Regions from separate parts of the Homo sapiens genome. Here all the other regions are linked to region 1. Evidence: promoter capture Hi-C in human tissues and cell types (Jung and others, 2019). All regions are on one chromosome and are shown on one strand. The core of a region is centred on a gene start or on the middle of the fragment in contact, and the rest is flanking DNA. Distances in the headings are between cores, read along the strand shown.

Region 1 (4,258 bases), core at 542-3,041:
CTCTGGCAGATGATCCAGCCCCACTATCTCTAAGGGAATATGGGGTGTCCCTGCAGGGGAAGCAAGACGACTTCTGGAAGAGAAGCCTCAGATGGTGCTAGCTTCTAAATGGTATGAAAAGCTCTTGGGGGAATTCTGCCACAAGACTTGAGAGAGAGGCCCTGGGCTTCTGGCACTTAAAGGTATGCAACAAAGTGATTCTGTAAGCAATCTCTCTTTGGCCTGTTCTTTGTATACTCTCAGGACCATGGCTGATTCACTCCCCAATCATAAGCAAGCTTTCCTGCTTCTCTGCATTTGTCCTCACTATCCTTTTCACTCGAAACACCAAACGTTGACTGCCAAACCCTCATTCCAGCCTTCAAGGCTCAGCTCCAACATGACCTCACCAAGGAAGGCATTCTGGCAGAGACCTCTCCTCCCACTGAGCTCACTCTGCCCTGTACTCTTCCCCACGTGGCCTCAGAGCTTTGTGTAAAAGTGTCCCTCACAGCCAGTTCTCATCTCTCTAGAGCAGAGGTTCTCAATCCAGGGAAATCCACTCTGGTGCTACTGGCATCTAATGAGTAGAGACTAGGGATGCTGCCCCCACAGCAAAGAATTATTGGCCCAAAAAGTCAATAGTCCTGAGGTTGAGAAACCCTGCTCTAGAGTATGAACTCTGAGTGGGGCTAGGCCTGATTTGGCTGTTTTCCTAGAAGCTTGCAGCACAGGGATGCAGAGGGGCAGGTTCCATAAATGCTTGTTGAAAGAACAAATGAATGAAAGATGGAGCCTGTCCCCACATCCCAGGCTGCTGGGCATCAGAGTTCTTCAAAGCTCCATTTGCTACTACTCCCCTTTTTCTCCCCTCACTCCCTCCCACATCCACCCACTCCCAGGGGCCTTCTGAGCCCTGCAGAGTGGAGACAGCTGGCAACTGCTTCACTTACCAGGATCCGTTGATTCCTCTTCCTGGGGTTGGTGGAATCTTTGTTCTCATACAAGGTAAAGCGCATGTTGCCTGGACTCTGTAGCTTCCCGTTGGAGAACTGGACTGTAAGAGTGCAGCCCAAGAATGAGATGAGAGCAGAAGGCCACACAATGTACCACACAATGTACGGTGGGACTAGACTGTCACTGGGAGGGAGTGTCAGAATGGGGATGGCAAGGAAGCTCGGGTCCTGACCCAAAGGGAACTGGAGGAGATCCGGGGCCAGCTGAGAAGAGGAGGTAGGGAGGTGGGAGAACCCTGGGGAGGGGCTGTGACAGGAGGGAATGTCTCGCGGAAGGAGGCTGACAGCAGAGGCCTGGTACATACCTAAAGTGACAGAAGGAACCCCTGCCCAGTGAAGAGAGGGAAATGGGGGAGGCGGGAGACCTGGTGGGTGAGGGGGTCAGCAGGGTCCTGGACACAGCTCTGGGGAGCGGGTGAGTGGGATGTCCCAATCTGGCTGGGAGGTAGTGACAGAAAGACGGACAGGGGAGCCCTGACAGAGCCCAGGGGAGTGGTGGAGACTAGAGGGGTCCCGGCCCCGCTGGGGAGAAGCCCAACGGAGGGCGAGAGGACAGCTGAGGTACCGAGACGGAAGGGGAGAGGGTTAGAGGAGCACTGCTCCAGCTCCGCAGTCTTTACCCAGTACAGCTCTCTGGCTCCCGTCGGGCGCCCCACAATACTGCCACCTCGCACTCGGCAACACCTCCGCCGCCATCTCGCCTGTCTGTCCGCCAAGCACAGGAGTTAAGACAGCAGCAGCCACAAGCGCACTTTTAAACACGCGGGAGCCCAGGCCGCGCTGCGGGCCGGAAAAGGCGTGGCCCCGCCGGGCACCGCCCACAGCGCGCGAGCCGCGTGTCCCCGCCCCCCGCGTAGAGAGGCGTGGTCTCCGCCCACAAGGTGCCACACACCCGCTTGACTGGCCGAGGCGCAGCACCTGATTGGCTCAGCGCTCGCGTGCACTCTGGGTTTTGTAGGTCCAGAGCCCGAGGCGCCAAAGGCTTCAGCCTAAGCTTGCTATGAGCCTTCTTCCGGCTCAGCACCTTCTAAAGAGAGTGTCGTCTCTCTCTCCTACCGTGACAAACTCATCTTCCCAAGACCTGAAGGACCAAGTTCAAATTTAGAATTCTCTGACAGGAACTGCTTGAGCCCCAACTAAATGTGGCCGCTGGCGAATAGCCGCCCCTCTCTAGGGCTTCCCACCCACCCACGTGGACATCCAGCTCTAGGTACAAACTTTGTCCACAGTCCGACAAACAGCTCCCCGCCATGGGCTGTGGCGTGCACACCTGTGGCCCAATCAACACTGAGGTGATGGAACAGAAGCCCAGCCAACCCCGGAGCCTTTGGGCAGGAGATTCTGGACTGGAATAGAAGAGGGAGTCCGAGCTGATGGACATGTCCCTTTTTCACTGCGGATTCAACCCTTCTTCTGCACGGGGAGTTTTCAGAGCAGAAAGAAGGCGAAAGCAGGGCCTTTAAGCATGGACGCTGGCCGAGGCCCCCTTTGCCCAAAGATGCGTACTATTGAAGGGCAAGAACTCCGGTTGACTCCCCTCTGTCTTCCAAATCACCTTCTTTCAAGACTCTTTTCCTTCCACACACCCTCAACACCCGCCTCCAACACCCAGGATCCTAGGAATAACCCTAAAGCCTGCATGCCCCTTTGCCTGAGCACTTGTCACGCTTTTCTAATTACCCAATCTCAAACGTAAAGAAACACTGCAAGAAATGTTTTTGCCCTGAACCATTTAGAGTAAGTTGTCAACCTGATACCCTTTCAACCCTGAAGACTATAGTATTTCCTACAGACATTCCCTAAATAACAACACAGCCATCAGAATCAGCAAATTGCCGGGCGCAGTGGTTCACGCCTGCAATCCCAGCACTTTGGGAGGGAGAGGCAGTTCTATCCCTTGATTCCAGGAGTTTGAGACCAGGCTGGGCAACATAACAAGACCCTGTCTCTACAAAAAATAATATTAGCCATGTGTGGTGGCGCACGCGTGTCGTCCCAGCTACTCGGGAGGCTGAGGTGGGAGGATTGCTTGAGCCTAGGAGGCAGAGGCTGCAGTGAGCTGTGATGGTGCCACTGCACTCTAGCCTGGGCGACAAAAAAAAAAAAAAAAATTAAACAGAAAAGAATCAGGAAATTAGCACTGGTACATTACCACCATGTAATCCTCACATCCCATTTAAGTTCACCCATTGTCCCAACGTTTGTTGTTAGTTTGTTTTTTGAGACAGGGTCTCACTCTGTCACCCAGGCTGGAGTGCAGTGTTGCAACCAGGGCTCACTGCAGCCTTGACCTTCCAGGCTCAAGTGATCCTCTCACCACAACCTGGGAATACAAGTGTGTGCCACCACACTCAGTTTTGTTTTGTTTTTTCTTAATTAAAAAAATTTTTTGTAGAGACTAGGTCTCACTGTGTTGCCAGGGCTGGTCTCAGACTCCTGGGCTCAAGTGATCCTCCCACCTTGGCCTCCCAAAGTTCTGGGATTACAGGCGTGAGCCATTGCAGCTGGCCCAATCATGTTTTTATAGCAAAAATGTCCTGTCAAGAATCATGTGTTGCATTTAGCTCTCATAGCCTTTCCTCCCTTAGAAGGCTACCTTGCTTGACCCCACCTCATGATTTTGGATTGAATTGTTCAGGAAAGGAAAAGGGAAGAAGAAGAAAGAAGAAAGAAGGATGAAGAAAGAAGAGCTTAATTGTGTGATTGTCTCACCCATTGATTGTTTCCTCACTAAACTTACTTGGGGTTCACAATAAACACTTTGGAGGTTAATAAACAAATTTATGTTTGTTTTGATCACTGCTTTATCTCCAAATCCTGAACATACTAGACCCTCAATAAATATGGAATGAATTAATGAATGACAGGGCAAAGAATGGGCCTGAATTATCACTAATCTTGGAAGCCTAGCACAGGGACTGGAACTCAAAGATGTTTGGTAATATTGGTTGAAATCAACTAGCATAGGGTTTACACATAACAGACTCTATAAATGTTTTTTGGTTGAATGAAAATATGAACAGTTAAATCAAAGTTAAAGGTGACCAAGATAACAGTGGCTACAATGAGCCAAGTATAGTTCTTAAGAGAAGTATCTTGTGATATAGGAACACATTATATGGCCTTGTTACTCATGATATAGGAACACATTGTATGGCCTTGTTACTCAAAGTGTGGTCCATGGAAACAGCAGCCTCGACAGCACCTGGGAACTTGTTAGAAATATAGGATCTCCAACCCTATCAAATCTTCTGCAACAGGAT
Region 2 (4,258 bases), core at 1,303-3,802, 690 kb before region 1:
TTTAAATCCATGGACTTTGAGTAAAGCGGGTTACCCTCTGTAATGGAGATGGGCTTCATCCAATCTGTCGAAGGCCTGAATAAAGATAATATAAAAGATAAAATAATAGACTGACCTCCCCTGAGCAAAAAGGAATTCTGTCAGCAAACTGCCTTCGCACTGGAACCACAACTCTTCCCTGAGTCTCAGCCTGCCAGCACACCTTGCAGATTTTGGACTTCCAAACCTCTACAATCCATGAGCCAAGTCCTTGAAACAACTCTCTCCATATACATATACACATATCCTGTTTGTTCTGTTTCACTGGAGAGCTCAAACTGGTCCAGTGGCTTTCTTTAGATCTACTGCTTTGGGTGTCAATTACTCATTCTGAGGCAATTGAAAAATTCCCACTCACTTCCTGCCACAAGTGAAATTGGATTATAGTTTTCTGGGATCTCATCCTCAGGTTTTTGGTGTAAAGTTATGCTATTTTCAAAAAATACGATCATACACATTTTGTACTTTCCCCAGAAAGTTATCTATTTCCTAAAGATTTAAAATAATCCACCCATAAAACCACTTCCTTTTCTGAATGCAACTCTTTAATAACTTTCTTGGTTTCTTCAGATCTATTATGATTTGGCTACATTTTGCCAATTTATTTGCCATTTATGTTTTCTTATATTACTCATTTTGACCATTTTTATACATTCTTTTCTCATTAAAAAATTTTATGTGTCTGTATGCACATTTCTTCTTTATTATTCTCTATGTTAAATTTTTGATTTTTCTTTTTTTATTAAACTTGTTGGAGCTCTTCCTCTCTCTCTTCCCTTCTATTCCTCCAAAAGCCAGTAGCTATGGCCAAGAAAGGTCAGTGTCTGCAGAGGTGAGGGAGAGCCTTGGTAACCGGAAGCAGGCTGTCAGAGCCCAGGTGGAGCACCAAGGGCATTGTGCAGGGGTGCTGCCAGGCACAGAGTGCAGAGCCTGAGCGTGGGGTGAGAATATTGGTTCAGGGGCGGAGGCGTGCAAACAGCATGAGGCATCAGAGAATAAGAGGAAAACATTCAAGAGGGGATGCCCAGCATAGGGTGTCAGAATCCAGCAGGATGAAGAAGGCTTCCAGGTGGGAAAGGCAGACTGGTGCTCAGATGTTGTGAGGAGGGCATCTGCACAGGGAAGAAGGTGCAGTTGGAGGTTGATTACATAAAGGGAATTGATCAAATAAGTAAATAGGCAGTCAGCCCTCTGTATTCATGGGTTCTGCATCCATGGGTTCAACCAACTGGATCAAAAATATTCAGGGAAAAAAAAATTACAATAATTAAAAAATAAATTAAAAGACAATACAGTATAACAGGTATTTACATAGCATTTGCATTGTATTCAATATTATAAGTAAGCTAGAGATGACTGAAGGCATATGAGAAGATGTGCATAGGTTCTACGTAAATATTATACCATATTAGATAAGGAACTTGAACATCCGTGGGGGGTCCTGGAACCAATACCCCACAAATACTGAGGGATGACTGTATTAGGGATAATGTGAATGATATTTCTCACTTTCAGGGAAGGGAGTTATAACATGTAGAAAATAAGAGAACTAGAATGAATCCAGTGATATTGGACTAGAATTGGGGCTGTTGGTGTGAGCTCACTGATTTCAAAATATGGAGACAGATATAGAAATATAGATGTAAATGTATATATATATATATATATATATATATATATATATATATATATGGGGATATATGTATACACACATCTTCAGAGGAAGAGCATAAAACTACAATGGAGAATCCTGGCAAACAGCAGGCTTATCAACTTAATGTCCACTGAAAGGGCCTGGGGTAGTGATACCCCAGTAGCAATGAGCACACCTAGTGTTCAGGTCTTGGCTTCTAAATAACATTCTCCATTAAAAGGAACAAGAGTTCCCTGGAGAAATGGCTGACTCCAGAGTTTAGATAGAGAAAGTGCAAGATATCCTGGAATATACTATCATTCTAGAAAGCAAGGTAGCTTAAAGAATGATAGAAACATGTCAAAATGAATCAGCTTAAAGGGGCTACCAAACACCAAATCAGAGGCAATTTGGGCACTAAGATAAATAGTGATAGTAACAAACGATAACTTATTGAATAGAACAGGAAATCATAAGACTATCTGACATAAATAAATGAATAAAAGTTTAATGAAGCATGGGATACACACTCTCAAAATATCTCTTCACGAAGTACTTATTAATTACATAGAGGAAAAGAGTAAAACTATAATGAAGAACCCTGGCAGATACAAGGTTTGTTTATCAACTTAGGTTATCAACATGAACATTATGAGCAATGGGATGAATCAGCATCCTGAGCCACCTGCAAGATTGCAATGAGAAGGTCACAGAAGCATCACTTCTGTGTTGTTCCTAGTTAAGACACATAACTTGAATCTAACTTTAAGGAAAGTCAGACAGGCCCAAATTAAAGGATATTAAACAAAATAAATGGGTTGTAATCTTCAAAAGTGTCAATGTCATGAGAGTCAAAGAAAGATGAAGAAAGTGTTCCAAAGTGAAGGAGTCTGTAGAGACAAGAAGCTAATCACTAAAGGCAACACATCATTCTGAACTGATTCTTTTTGATGTAAAGAACATTATTGGGACATTTGGCATAAGGAATATTATTGGGACATTTGGCAAAATGCAAATAAAATCTGAGGATTAGATGGTAATAAACTATTGATGAAAATTTCCTGATTTCAGTGGGTATGGAGGACTAGTAGGGAGGGTCTGCTCCTCACAATCCCCTCAGTTCTACCCTGTGCTTCCTCTCTCTTGCTGGGGCAAAGAGAGGGAAGATGGAAAAGGGAAAATGTCTCTTACTTAATTAGGCAAGCTTGTTATTTTTTTCCTAGATAATGATAATGAGGTGTGTATGTATGTGTATATGTGTTTTATATATTTTGATGCTATGTTACTTATTGCATAAAGATTTATAATTGTTATATATTCAAAATAACTGTACCCTTTATTGAAATAAAAGCTCTTTAAGGCCAGGGTATGGTGTCTCATGCCTGCAATCCCAGCACTTTGGGAGATAAAGGCAGAAAGATTGCTTGAGGCTAGGAGTTGGAGACCAGCCCGAGCAACATAGCGAGAACCTCATCGCTTAAAAATAAATAAATAAATAAATAAATAAATAAATAAATAAATAATAAAACCTCTTTGTTGCATTGAATCTGTTTGGTTTTGAATCCTGCTTAGCCTGAAATTAATATTAGGGCTCCTGCTGTCTTTATGTTTGTATGTGCTTGATGTAACCTTGCCTGTCATTTACTTTCATATATATTTTTTATTGGGGGAAAATATACCATTTTAACCATTTTTAGGCCTACAATTCAGTGGCATTAATTACATTCACAGTGTTCTGCAACTATTACAACTATTTCAAAAACTTCATTCTCCCAAACAGAAGCTCTAACCATTAAGCAATAGCTCCTCATTTCCCCTCTCTCCAGCCTCTGGTCATTTCTAATTACTTTCTGTCTGTGAATTTGCCTATTCTAGGCACCTCAGTATCCGTCCTTTTGTGTCTGACTTACTTCATTTCACTTAGCCTGTCTTCAAGGTTCATCTGTGTTTTAGCATGTATCACAACTTCATTCCTTTTCGTGGCTGAATAATATTCTCTAGTACATATATAACACATTTTGTTTACTCAGCAACCTGCTGATGAACACTTGGATCACTTCCACCTTTTGTCTACTGTGAATAATGCAGCAATGAACATTGATGTACGAGTATTTGTTTGAGTCCCTGCTTTCAATAGCTTTGGGTACACACCTAGGAGAGGAATTGCTGGATCCTATTTGCTTTTTGCATTACTGTTTTACTTTATTTTGAAAGCCTCTCTTATAGGAAGCATACAATTTGAGAGTTTTTGTCATAAAATAAAGGAATATAGCCCATTTACACTCATTGTTGAAATAGATTATTAGTATTATATCTATTACCCAAAAATTATTTTAATGCTTTCTTGCTTCTTCCAGTGCTTGCTGTTTGGTATGGTGACCACGTATTCTTGGCATTTTATCTTTTCCTCTGTGTGTGCATGTGTGTATACATATTGCATATGTTATATAATTATATACTATTTATTGTAATTCATTTTATATTATGTGTATTTATACATGGCACATTATCTGTCTAGAATTCTACAAATAGTTATTTTAACTTTTCTTTTTCTTTTTTTTTGAGATGGAGTCTCGCTCTGTTGCC
Region 3 (4,258 bases), core at 1,288-3,787, 600 kb before region 1:
AGTGTGCAAATGAGACACTGCCCAGCCTTGGAGTGAGGAGGTCCATAGTCTAGAGCCCCCAAACAATCATTGCATCTTAAGACTGAAAGGATCAGAGTGGGCTCGAAGGCCTGGGCAGAAGAAGCCCCTCCACCCACCACGACTCTGGAAAACCACAAAAACCAACAGTTCTCTCCTTCAGACATTTGCAATACGCAATGATTCTATAGTATCTTGTAAATCCTAAGAGATCCAGAAATCCTAATGAGGAGATGCTCACTTAGATTCTGCTCCAGATCTGCCAGTGCCTCTCTGCACTGTGCCCAGCAGCCTCAGAGGACTCTGTGGGGGTGGATGCTCTGTCGGATGCCACTTAGGTGAAGGAAGATGACAGCAGTCATCTGGGTTCCCTGAGGGCCCTGAAAGAGCTTGTTAGTGGATGTTTGGTTTGGAAGGTTACTGAGCTCCTTCCTCTCTCTTCCAGCCCAAGAGATCAGACCATTTGGCCAGGAACATTCCCTTCCAACTCTGAGAATCCTCCATGCCAAGCTAGCTCCTGCTCAGGGCAGGCATCTCCCCACAGGGTCTGAGCTATTTTAGGAGACTTGATATCCCGCACTCAGCCCTAGGGAGGGGAAGAAAAGGACAGACAATTGGGCGATATCCACCCCCATCCCCAGACTGAGAAAGATGACAGACGGCCATTTGCAACTTTAACTCTTTCTTGGCTCTGGCAAAGACCAATGCATCCCACTTAGCAAAGCCTCAGATGGCAGCATGGTAACCATTTCAATTCGAGAAAAAAAAATAACAAAGTGTAGTGGGAGAAAATTATGCATGGAAAGTGACTTTTAAAAATTGCCTTTAAATATTACAGCCAAAGTGAGAGGCTGGAAATTGCATCAGAACATTTTTTGGTGTGGTTTAACACTGAAGAAATCAACCACTTTCCCAACTGCAGGGCTTCAAGTAATATTTCATCTTTTCAGGAACACCCAAGTTTAGTTTGACAAAGAGGAAAATTGGATTAAACTCTTCAGATTTAGGGTGTTTTCCTGGCACCCTAGCACATAAAGTCACTCACAAGTAAACCCAGGTAAATTTAATCTTGGTGGTTTCAATGTTTAATGCCTTTATGTCCTTTTTTTTTTGAGACAGGGTCTCACTCTGTCACCCAGGCCAGGCTGGAGTGCAGTGGCACAATCATGGCTCACAGCAGCCTCGACCTCCTGGGCTCAAGCAATCCTCCCACCTCAGCCTCCCAAGTAGCTGGGACCACAGGCACACGTCACCATGCCTGGCTAATATTTTATTTTGTATTTTTTGTAGAGATGGGGTTTTGCCATGCTGCCCAGGCTGGTCTCGAACTCCCGGACTCAAGCAATCCACCCACCTTGGCCTCCCAAACTGCTAGGATTATAGGCGTGAGCCACAGTGCCTGGTATGTCTTTTGTTTCAATTGTTACCGTCAGTATACAAAGCCCAGGTCCAGGAGCTGGGTGGGTCTAACATCTGGACTTCTGTGCACAGACAGGATGCTCTGCAGGAAGATGTGGAAGGGAGGGAGAGATGGACACAGCCAGCAGGAGGAGAGTCTGCAATGATTCTACAAAGATAAAGGTGCCCTTTTACACATGGTGGTGTGGTTTAAGGCCGGAGGTAATAACTGAGATTTAAGAACTGTGACTCAGTGAATGTCTGTTGGATTCAATCCCATACACAGTCACTGGGGCTAACACTTGGCAGGCACTCGGCCACCCACCAGGGTGGGCAGAAGTAAATAATGCACAGCCCCTGCTGCCTGGTCTCCAGACCTCTCTCAAGAAGAGGAGGATCACACATCCTGGGCACCTGGTAATCCCAAAGCTAATCCCCCATAGAAGAAAACCTAAAGGTGCTGGTGGGCACGTAGTATTTAAGTCCTCCTCAGTTGCAGAAAAACACTGCTGTGTTCTTGATCACCACTTGCTTCTGAAGCAAAGCAAGCACAGCCTCAAGGTCTGACCGCCCACCCAGCCCTGCAGATATCCGCAGATATTCTCTCTCTGCCGGCACCCTTAGAACACGGGGACTCCTTGGCACCTGGCTGACCTGTGATGTCCTCTGACCAGGCCTGATTTCCTTTCTCCCCACGTTCACTTCCTCCTTGCCTACAAGCTCCACAGATCCTTCTGCCAGACCTTCAGGCTCTCTGACCCAGACCTTTCTGCCCCTACATGCCCCTGTGTACTTCTGACTCTTATGGGCCTAACTTGACCTATTGCCAATAAGCCCCAGGTTCCAGTGGTGGCCTTCAAGACGGCTATCAGTCTGAAGTTTGGGACTGAAAAAGCCACTGCACTCAGTGGATTTGCAGCCTCCATAATCTATGCTGCACTTGCCAGATGCAGGCAGTTTGACCATTAAGATGCATCGCTACAAAGCAATTCAACTCATTTGCTCTCTTAGCACCCACCTGTAGATCAGGGCCCTGCGTACACAGCCCCTTGAGTAAGGTCACCAGAGAAAATATACAGCATTCAGTTATACTTGGATTTCTGGTAAATAAATAAGAATTAGCTATAAGTATGTCCCAACTATTGCATGGATGTCCTTTGTTGTTGTTTTTGAGACAGAGTCTCCCTCTGTCACCCAAGCTAGAGTGCAGTGGCACAATCATGTCTCACTGCAGCCTCAACCTCCCAGGCTCAAGTGATCCTCCCATCTCAGCCTCTTGAATAGCTGGGACTACAGGCTTGCACAACCATGTCCAGCTAATTTTTTTATTTATTTATTTTTTTTTTTTTAGGAGTCTTGCTCTGTCGTCACCCAGGACAGAGTGCATGGTGCGATCTTGGCTCACTGCAACCTCCACCTCTGGGTTCAAGCGATTCTCCTGCCTCAGCCTCCCAAGTAGCTGGGGTTACAGATACCCACCACCACGCCTGGCTTATTTTTGTGTTTTTTTTTGTAAAGACAGGATTTCACCATGTTGGACAGGCTGGTCTTGAACTCCTGACCTCAAACAATCTGCCTGCCTCAGATTCCCAAAGTGCTGGGATTACAGGCATGAGCACCCAGCATAATTTTATTTTTTTGTAGAGACCAGGTCTCACTATGTTGCCCAGGGTGGTCTCCAATTGCTGGGCTCAAGCAATCCTCTTTGCCCTGGCTTTCCAAAGTGCTAGGCATGAGCCACCATGCCCAGCCTGTTTTGTTTTTTCTAAATATGGCAGCCCTATCCTAAGACACCTCTACTATCCTGAATGGAAAACAATGATCTGCCAGCTCCCGTTTTGCAAACAGGGAAACTGTAGCCCCAGAGATCACAGAGGATGTCAGGTAAGAACTCAGGAGTCTTGACCCCAGACTGGAACTCTTTGCTTCCATTACACTTAACTTCGCTAAAGGCATGTACCCTCTTGCTAGAGGTGACTGTTAGTCACCTGGAGGTGATTTCAAAGGGGTCACTGAGGTCATAATTTATGACCTCTCTGCTCCACCCCATCCTCACCTCCACCCCCCTTTCTATTGCTGTAGGTATTAACAGAAGCTATCCTGGGTTATGGCCATTCTGGGACCATATCATTAATGGCCACCTCAGGGAGGAAGTGGGCTGTAAGCGGCAGGGTCAGAGACAGCTGTGAGTGAGAGCCCATCATTGGGTAACACAAGGACAAGTGGGATTTGAAACAGGCAAACACCGGGCAAAGCATGTTGGGAGAGGCCCACTTAATTCACAGAGACACTTGGAATTAGCTGTAAATTCTCTGGGAAGAGATCAAGGCAGCGGCATAAACAGCTCAATTAAACTGTTGGCTCAATGCTCAGTGCGCGGTAATGGTCAAAACACAGACTTTAATCTAGATATAGAGGATTATTTCTCGACCCGTAATGAGATTCCTAAGATTAGTTGTACCTGATGTGGAGAGAACAGCAGCTGGCTCAGCGACACTGGGGACAGGCTTACATGTCAGCAGGACTGGGACTCACGTGGAAGCGGCTAACTGGATGCCACAACTTTCCTGGAGCCCCCTCCGGATGCCAGGAAGGCAGGGATGAGTCATGTTCTGCTTCCTCAATTTAAGAGATCTGGGAACAGAACCCCAGAATGCATGTGCTTCAAAAGTACAGCAAGTCAACACAGTATGGCTCTGGCATAAAAACAGACATATAGACCAACGGAAAGAATAGAGCCCAGAAATAAACCCGAGTATATATGGTCAACTAATTTTCAACATGGGCACCAAGAACACACAATGGGGAAAGGACAGTCTTTTCAATAAATGATATTGGGAAA

The links. Contacts are between HindIII fragments. The study calls those that stand out against the background at their distance.
Region 2: a fragment that was not itself captured here is called in contact with the fragment with the promoter of POLR1E in region 1 in 1 of the 25 tissues and cell types used here (dorsolateral prefrontal cortex).
Region 3: a fragment that was not itself captured here is called in contact with the fragment with the promoter of POLR1E in region 1 in 1 of the 25 tissues and cell types used here (lymphoblastoid cells).

Annotation. Positions count from the first base shown.
Region 1 is chr9:37,483,481-37,487,738 of GRCh38, reverse strand. It overlaps POLR1E (RNA polymerase I subunit E), which reads right to left and starts at 1,791. Exons shown (of 12, transcript NM_022490.4): 1 at 1,616-1,791; 2 at 933-1,036. The coding sequence starts at 1,691. RefSeq lists a silencer at 1,664-1,993 and an enhancer at 1,735-2,326. The HindIII fragment of the contact is 4,331 bases long and covers 491-4,258 here.
Region 2 is chr9:38,174,540-38,178,797 of GRCh38, reverse strand. No RefSeq gene overlaps it. Among named protein-coding and RNA genes, the nearest start is that of SHB, 110 kb to the right of the region's middle. The HindIII fragment of the contact is 4,381 bases long and covers 362-4,258 here.
Region 3 is chr9:38,079,300-38,083,557 of GRCh38, reverse strand. No RefSeq gene overlaps it. Among named protein-coding and RNA genes, the nearest start is that of SHB, 12 kb to the right of the region's middle. The HindIII fragment of the contact is 6,447 bases long and covers 1-4,258 here.